Linked DNA regions of Homo sapiens: all the other regions are linked to region 2. Evidence: promoter capture Hi-C in human tissues and cell types (Jung and others, 2019). All regions are on one chromosome and are shown on one strand. The core of a region is centred on a gene start or on the middle of the fragment in contact, and the rest is flanking DNA. Distances in the headings are between cores, read along the strand shown. Region 1 has its middle 160 kb from the start of LINC02379. Region 2 holds the start of FAT4 (FAT atypical cadherin 4). Region 3 has its middle 230 kb from the start of LINC02379.

Region 1 (2,726 bases), core at 89-2,588, 590 kb after region 2:
TAACACTTCCCACTAGGCCCCACCTCCAACACTGGGGAGCACATGAGATTTGGAAGGCACACACATCCAAACATAACAGGGTGATTTCGCTGGCAACAATTAGAAACCTATAGATATCTGTTACCAGATCTCAAGTTGACAGCTGGCTTCACAAAAGTGATAAGAATTTAGTAACAGTTTCCAGTGTATTTTTGTAAAAAGTCTACCGTATATGACCTAAGGCAGTATTTAGCATTCTTATGTAATCAAGAGATTCATACTTCTACATATTTCTGATCTCACCCTAATTTCATATTTTCCAAATATTATAGATACATGAATCATCTTTAAAATAGAAGCCTACCCTTTCCCTTGGGATTTTGTCATTTTTGGCATTATATGTGATAAAGTTGTTCAAAGAGACAAGGAAAAATACAATATTTTATATCACTATAGTGTCAAATTATATTAATTTTCACTTCGTATATGTAACAATCTTGGTGCTACTTTCCAAACATAAAAATAAATTTAAAGATTTTCCCTCCTTTTACAAGTGATACTTTTGCTTTTTAGTGTACTTAAGTATTAAAAGTATTCATTGAAGCATTTTATTTAATTTCAAATAAATGTTTTCAACATCACATTATGATATTATTAATTATTTTGAGATTGCATCTGTACTAGCTTAAATGTCATGTCCTTGGCTTAGCCTCTGCTGTGTGCTCTAATTAGAGATGCTCCTCATGTTCTCTTTGCCCTTGCCATACAAACATGTGCTTTTCTGCATTATTGTGTTTTATTTTCTCTCTGTTGATTATCCTTATCTGAAATAATTGTTGCTTACAAGTTTTTTTAATCTCTGCTTATTATCATCTGTTTTACAATGACAATGATTTATCTTGCTTATGCCATATCCCCAGTGCCTATGATATTGCCAGGTGCAGATTAGGCATTCTTTTAAGTATTTGAATGTGTGGATGAAACAAAGAAGGAATACACTTTGTAAAGGTATCTAAAATAGCAGGTATGTATTGCATTTATTCATTTATATTTCTTTATACTTGTCTTCCACTTCTTAAATGGCAAAGAGAAGAAATTTACATTGAGAAGACAAGAGTAGAAAGAGATCAGCGCTGTGGGATTGTAAAAATAATTGTGCAATTTGGTATGTTTAAATGATCATAACCATGCTCTGATTCACACCACAGTGGGAATAATTCTAGTCTCAAGAAATGGATTGAAAAAATCTCATGCTTCAGTTTTGTAATTTCGTATGTAAGTAGATAAGTAGATGTTTAAAAGGTCATTGAAATATAATTATAACCATTTACTAAAGAAAAAAAAGTGTTCAGTCCCAAAGCTTTTCACATCATGATAAGCAGAGTAAGAACAGTTAAATCTGGTCCAAGTTTGCCTTAGATAAATGGCTATCAAACTCCATTAGCCAGTGATTCTGCCTTCTTTCATCCTGTGCAATGAGGAGGGAAAAGTAAACCATTAAATCACAAAAGTCAGCACTGAAACACTTGGAAAGTGGTTCAAATATGGACAGATCTGTTGGGAAGAGCATCAATGTGATCTTCTAATTACTAACAGGCAAAATGATATGGATGAAGCCATCCTGGGTCAATTTCTGTAAAGCTTGAATGTTTCTTCATTACTTGGGTTATATTTCCCCTCACCATTTACTACTCCATCACAACCTGAAGTACCAGTTTAAATCATTCATTTAAACTTGATCATATGGGGCAATTTAAAGTTCTTACTTCCTCTTGCCAGCTTACAAACACATCAATTCTAGGAGTCTTTCAAATTCCAAAATGAAAGTCACTCACTTTATATTTAATTGTCATCATCATCGTCATCATCATCATAGTCATCATCAACATTGCTATCATCCCAGTAGTTTAATAATGCCTGGATAGTACAGAGATGAGCAAGCCTTTCAGGACTGTTAATATTGATTTCAGCATCAGCCATGACCTTGTTTGGCCCTCCTATGCATGTCCCTTGGATATGTAAAACAAGAATCAGGTAATGACATCAAATGATTTATGAAAGCTAGTTAGTAAAAATAACCAACTGACTAATTTTTATTACTGCTTATTTTTATGGTTGGTGATCCCCAAACATAGTCCTGATCGTTATTATTTCCATGCTTTTAGATTAAATCATTGAAAGTTAATGTGCTTTTGAAAATTTTCAATGTCATGCATTTATTCACTTTTCCTTTACTCATTTATTTGTAAAAGCATCTTTGGATTCATCAACCATATTTTTCTTGTCATTAGATACTGTTAGATGCCATTTCCTTGCAGAAAAGCATTGATGGAAGACACCCTGAAAGAATAGTAAAAGATAAGGATTTAACTAAGTAATGGATGGCAAGAAAACATTTAAAAGAAACAAAATGTAACAAGGTCAAAGACATCAAAGGAATAGAAAGAGAAATAATTTTAAAGATTACATTTAAGTGTGATCTCAAAATATACAATATCATGTACAAAGTTTCTTTATGATGTTTTGTTGATCTGAGCTAAGTACTTTTGGAATCTTCATTTTGTGGTTAATTATGCTACAAGAATCTCTATATGAGATTAGTGCCTGATTATACGGTGGAAAGATACATTTTTCCAAATGTTGTAGTACTTTAAAAAAATTGGATTGTATTACACATACAGTAATATAAAACATTTTATACTGATAATTTTATCTTCTTATCTGCAGTAGGGGTGTGGCTTGTCCTC
Region 2 (2,703 bases), core at 74-2,573:
TACTCATGACTGAACCCTCTCTGGGCGCAGAAAGTTTTACGTTTGTGAGGGATCCTTGTGGCAGAAATGTATGACATATGCCCTGTATTTGCATTGTTTGGCTTGAATTCTTATTTTCTAGGTTGGTTCCCTTAAAGGGGAAAAATATCGATCTGATTCCTAGTAACGTTTTTCTTCTTTTAAAGAAACGATGCATGCCACCACAAAAATTAACTGCAGTGAATAGTGGGTGAGTTGATCTGAGTGCATTAAGTGGCATGTGGGTATTTTTAAAAACTTAAGCTTAAATATTATTTTATTTATTTCTACTTTCTCGTATCTATTTCTCCCAGACTGAAAAGCAAAATAAAACTTTATTAGGTTTCCTTTGACTAAAAAATGTGGAGGTGGAAATACTCCATCAGGGATCAAAATTCCAAACTAACTTTGCAACAGGAAAAGATCTCCCTCTTTTCAAAGGGCTGCCATTATTATTGTTGTTGAAACCCTAAGGTTTGGGCTACTGGCACCTGGAATCCAGTTGGGAAAGAAAACAAAACAAACACTGAGTTCCCCTGGCCTTTCCTATAGTAGGAAGTCCAAAGTGCCCTTGCTACGGAGGCCTCCTGCCCCCTAGTCACCTGGAAGGTGGGGGAGAGGGGCAAGTGAGTGAAGATTTAGAGTTTAGCTCGCCCTAGACAGCAGGGAGCCCACTGTGTAGAAAGAGGAGCAAAGGGGAGGATTTGATTTGGATTCTGTGGGATCACACTGTATGGCAGCTCTATCCCTTGCATAAAGAGAGAAGGGGCAGGAAATGGTTAAAGCAAATCTGCACTGTGCATTCCCAGACAGGCTTTGCTTAATCCTTCCTCCCCGCTTTAACAGACCCTCACCCCCCGCCTTTCTTTTATTTCTCTCGACCCCCTTACCCCTGAGTTATTACTAGCATAACAACCTAACGGTCTTCCCCCAGACCCTGCCACTAAAGTTATTTATCTGCAAACCTGACCCCACCCCCATCTATTCTGCGGCAGCCTTTTGCTGTTATTGCTCTGACGCCGGCCAAGATTTGGCCGAAAAGGAAAAAAAAAAAAAAAAAAGAAAAGAAAAAAAATCACCCCCCTTTTTAGCGCCTCCGCCTCGCTGTGCTCCCACACCAGACCGCCTACAGCCCTCCGGGAGGCTGAAGTGATTAGCATCCCGAGAAGCCAGTCGGAGGCCGGGCAAGGCGGAGGGCGCTCGCGGTAGGAGTGCCGGTCGGGGCTGCTTCAGCTCCGGCCCAATGGGGCTGGGGCGAGGGAGGGGCAGAAGGTGACAGGACTGGGAGCTAGGGGGAGTCCAGGCGAACTAAAGTGCGGGGATCAATGAGTGTCGAGCAAAGTTTCTGAGTGCTGCTCCAGCTCGCGGTCTTCCCTCCCCCTCTGTTTGTGTTTCGGCGACGCGCTGTGTGTGTGTGTGTGCGTGTGTATGTGTGTGTGTGTGCATGCCTGTGCGGCGGGGAAGGGGCGGGGAGAGTGTGAGGGACCAGGCGGGAGGTGGAGAAGGGCTCGCGGAGCCCTAGCTCCACCGCAGTCCAACCTTCGGCCCCGGCCGGCGAGAGGGAGAGCGCTGACAGGCGCCGTCCGGAGCTGCGGAGGGCGTCACTACAGCCCAGCGCCGACTTCGCCGCCTCCGCTGCCAACTGTGAAGGAGAGAGAGGCATCAACCACCCCCCGCCCCAAACAAAAAGCCTTGTGGATTACAAAGTGAAACTGACACGGGACAATAAAAGCAGAGATAGCGAGGGCAGGGGCGAGGCGCGCTAGAGTGGGCTTCTGACTGGGGCCGCCGGAGAACGACCCCCCCTGGCATGGTGAGGGGAGGGCGACTCGGGGACCGCACGCTGTTTCTGCCCGACCCCTGCGAGGCCGAGAAGAAAGGGGAAACTGCGTTCGATTTGGATGTACAAATAATGGGTCGGCAGGCGCCCCGGCAGAGGTGAAAAATGCCGAGGAGCCCTGGCTGTTGTTTGTGCCGGACCACGGGCTTGAAGCCGCAACAGGGGCGGCGGCGGCGGCGGCTGCAGGAGGGGAAGGGGCAGAGTTGAGCGCTCCCGGGTACGGGAGCCAGAGCGCGAACGCTAGCGCTTGGAACGCAGTTCCCGAACTGCCTGCGCGCAGACGCCGCCGCCTGGGCCTCAGCGGCCACTGCCGGCGCCCTGTTGGAGGGGCGTTGCAGCCTGGTTTTTGAGGAGTGGGGACTCCAGGAATTCCATCGCCTCCAGCTTTTGGGAAAGAAATTCGATTCTCCCGGTTCCCCACCACCCCTTCCCCGGTGCGCAGTTGTGCTTGGACGTTTGTTCCTCCCTCTTCACGTTCTTCGCTGCGGGTAAGTTCTAAAGTTTCTGAAGACCGTTCTTTGCAATGATTCCTCATATACCTTAGATACAGGCAACTTCTCCCAACTCTCATCCACCCGGGTGAAAACGCTCAGACTATCTGGATTCAAAAACAAAGTAAAAGGGGGCATATATAAGAGGCTTGAGAAACTTTTCTGGGAACTCAGCTCACAGGAGTGTCCCGCGGAATGCCCTGCCGCTTTTCGCCACAGCATCTCTCTTGCACTCCGCGTTCAACTGGCTACCTAGAGTCTTTTGCTGATGCTACTTGCTTTTGCCGGACTGGAGGTTCTTTGAAATAGCAGAGGTCTCAGACCAAGCCGTCAGCTGAATCTTTGCTGGCGCTC
Region 3 (3,095 bases), core at 462-2,961, 520 kb after region 2:
TTTGCAGTACCCTGAGATAAGGAAGAAATGTCTAGAACAATCTAGGCTGGGTCTTTGCTCCTCCCAGAATAGAATGTTCTACAAAGCTTGAGCTCTGTGAGACAAGTGGTGCTCAGTCTATGCAAACCCAAAGCTGAGTGCTTTTGAGGTTTTTCAGCTGTCATGCAATGAACGGCACACACAGACTAAACTTCATTTTTCCTGGGCAGCTTTGCTAAGCCTTGGGGAACCAGCCCGCTATGGATGTTAAGCTTGGTTTATCCTTTCTGCCTTTCTGTGGGTAATAAATTTGCTTTGACTAACTTGTTCAGAGAATGTTCTGTCTCACTGGATTCATGCAATTGGTAGAGAATCTTTGCAATATCTGCTAGAAAAGTTGTATTAATACTGAAATTTGTGTATAATATATAACTAATGCATTTATAAGCCTCTTCTAAGAGGTAAACTTCCTGGTGGCTGAAATACAAAATTTCAACTTAAACTTGGTGAATTCTTCAGCATACAGGCTGGCTGGTTCCTTAATTAGGGTTAACATGTAAGGACTAGAAGATAATAAAAAGGATAGTTTCCAGTGTTAATACTAATATCCAACAAAATATAGGATACAAAATTATTAATTTACTTGTACTAATTGTACTAACATATATTCTGGTAAAGAAACTAGAAAATATGGCTTAATCCTTTCAGATAATGTTTTGGGAAGAGCCCAGAAACTACTCTTTTTAGCTGTCCATTTCATCACTTGTAAAGAAAAATTGGAATATGTTGGAGAAGAAGATCAAGGAGTTGAGAGAGGTGAAGAGAGATTAGGGGAGAAGAAGGAGGAAGTGGTAGAGCTGGGAAAGGAGGCCTGAAGAGGGGAGCAAAGGAGGGAGAAAGAAAAGATGGAGCAACACAAGAAAGGAAGTAAAGTGGGAGGACAGGATGATGATGAGGAGAGAGGAGGAAAGAAAAAGAGGTGGGAAGAAGTGGAAAGGAATAGAAATAGAATAAAAACTGGAAAAAGAAGAAGGGTGAAGGGAGGGAGTGGGAACAGCCATGCAAGGATAAAGGAAAAGATCACCCGGGTAGAAGCTCTCAGGAAGAACGGTCTTGACCTGTTTGGGAAATCATGGAAAGTCCATTTTGGCTGGAATATAGTGGACAAAGAGGGAGTAGGAGAAGTATGCAGGGCAGGGTGTTCTATATCATGCAATTCTCTAATCCCTAAGTAGCAGAAAGCAGATAATATTGTCTTATGTCTTTTAACCATTGTTTTAAAATATATTTATTTTTACAAACTCTGGCATTTTATTTAAGCTGCCAGGTCATTCAGATGTAGGTGAGTTTGAGAACCATGACCCTAATTTATTTTAATGTATAGCTTAAAGAATGAAGTGAATCTCAATCTAAAGCTAACAGCTGAGGCCCAGCATAGCTTCAGGATTCAGCTAGCCACCTTCTTGTTACAAATGCACCCCTCAAATCATGCTATTTTCATACACGCTTATTTAGCTTGCTCTTTATAATACTTTAACTCAACAATTAGAAATTACATAAATAAGCATAATGGTTAAGCATAACAGAATGAAATCCCAGCTCCAACATGTCTAGGTATCTGGCTAAAAGAGAACTATCTCACCTCTCTAAATTTCAATAAGTTAATTTGACAAGTTGAAGTATATATTTCACAGGATAATCATGAAGAGAACTTAAGTTGTACATTAAACACTCTGGCAGTTATACATTAAAATAAATTTAATGCAAATATTTAGTTATGGCAATTTTAGCATCAATATGTTTCAATAAAAGTATCATAATAAATGGCTATCACCTCTATCCAATTTTGAAAGAAAGTAAATCAGTGAAAAAAGGAGGCAAACATTGAGAAAAACAACATGAGTAAAATATGGCAATGTTTGTTTTAACTCAGTTTTATTTTAAGTTCACTTTAAACAATAGTTATATAAAAATTACCATTTATTAGGGGCTTTGTAATTTAAGAAATGTATAGAGAAATGAGAGGTCTTTTTTAAGCTTAAAAAATGTGTAGTTAAAGGTAGATATTCAGAATTCAACCTAATTCCACACATGTTGGGTCCTGTTTACTTCTATCTTGTTAGGAGCAAAGGTATACAATGAACTATTTAGTTTTCTTTTGTTTGGTTTATGAAACCTTTTGTGGTTTTCATTTAACATAAAGGAAATCTAATATGTTCCCATGAAAATCATTAAGATAGTGCTGTATATTTCCAGTGAAATGGAAAAGGCTGTTAATTGGTCAATATTGATTGTTTATTTATATAAATCATGACCCCGTTAGCTAAATATTCGCTTCTTAAATAGCAGTAATTTTAGACTTGAATTGTCTAAATAATTGACTCAATTTTTCATTTTAGCTTGCCATTATTCACACAACTTTTGAGTTAAAGATGAATATAAGCCTTTGTAAATTTAGCTGACATTACCAGATTACTTATTTTCCTAGTGATTTTTATCTAATTAGAGTCTTAATCTGAAATAACTTATTTTTCTTAACCCAACAGCAATCCCTTGCTGACTTCATGCTTTAAATTCCAAAATATACAATACGTATTAGTGAGCTGTTGGCTGGCTTATTAGAACTCACTTGAAAAATATAACGTGACATTTTTCAAAGGTAAAATGAGGTGGCAGAGAATCATGCTTTTTGAATGAACTAGAATTGAAGCAAATTTAAAGAGCTTGTTTGTAATGGCTTTGTGATTGGGATCAGTTTACTACTTTGTCATTATTGCTACTTCACCAACTAGTATAAGAGCAAACAAATTTTTAAAAAATATGTTTCTTATTAATTTATTTGCCAGAGAAAACTTCTGAGTTGCTTGTTTTCAGTTGATTTCTTAAATTTTTGCTTCCAATGATATTTTTTCAGTTCCACTGAAAGAGAAGGGGAGTGTTCTTTCCAGCTGTTTAATGGATAGCCTTCCTACTGACATTGACAGCAGTAATTAGTCAGAACAACAATAGTTATACTGTAATGTGAACTTTCCCAGCCAACAAAAAAGATTTGGAATTTTTTGCTTATCTGGAGTTTGAGCTCGAGTTTTTAATTTTTCTTCTCAACAACTCTCCAT

The links. The method cuts DNA at HindIII sites, captures the fragments that hold promoters and counts their contacts. A contact is called where the count stands out against the background at its distance.
Region 1: a contact is called between a fragment that was not itself captured here and the fragment with the promoter of FAT4 in region 2, in 1 of the 25 tissues and cell types used here (H1 embryonic stem cells).
Region 3: a contact is called between a fragment that was not itself captured here and the fragment with the promoter of FAT4 in region 2, in 2 of the 25 tissues and cell types used here (H1 embryonic stem cells and stomach).

The regions. Positions count from the first base shown.
Region 1 is chr4:125,900,813-125,903,538 of GRCh38, forward strand. No RefSeq gene overlaps it. Among named protein-coding and RNA genes, the nearest start is that of LINC02379, 160 kb to the right of the region's middle. The HindIII fragment of the contact is 5,660 bases long and covers 1-2,726 here.
Region 2 is chr4:125,313,632-125,316,334 of GRCh38, forward strand. FAT4 (FAT atypical cadherin 4) reads left to right here and starts at 1,324. Exons shown (of 18, transcript NM_001291303.3): 1 at 1,324-2,346. The HindIII fragment of the contact is 10,793 bases long and covers 1-2,703 here.
Region 3 is chr4:125,828,426-125,831,520 of GRCh38, forward strand. No RefSeq gene overlaps it. Among named protein-coding and RNA genes, the nearest start is that of LINC02379, 230 kb to the right of the region's middle. The HindIII fragment of the contact is 6,615 bases long and covers 1-3,095 here.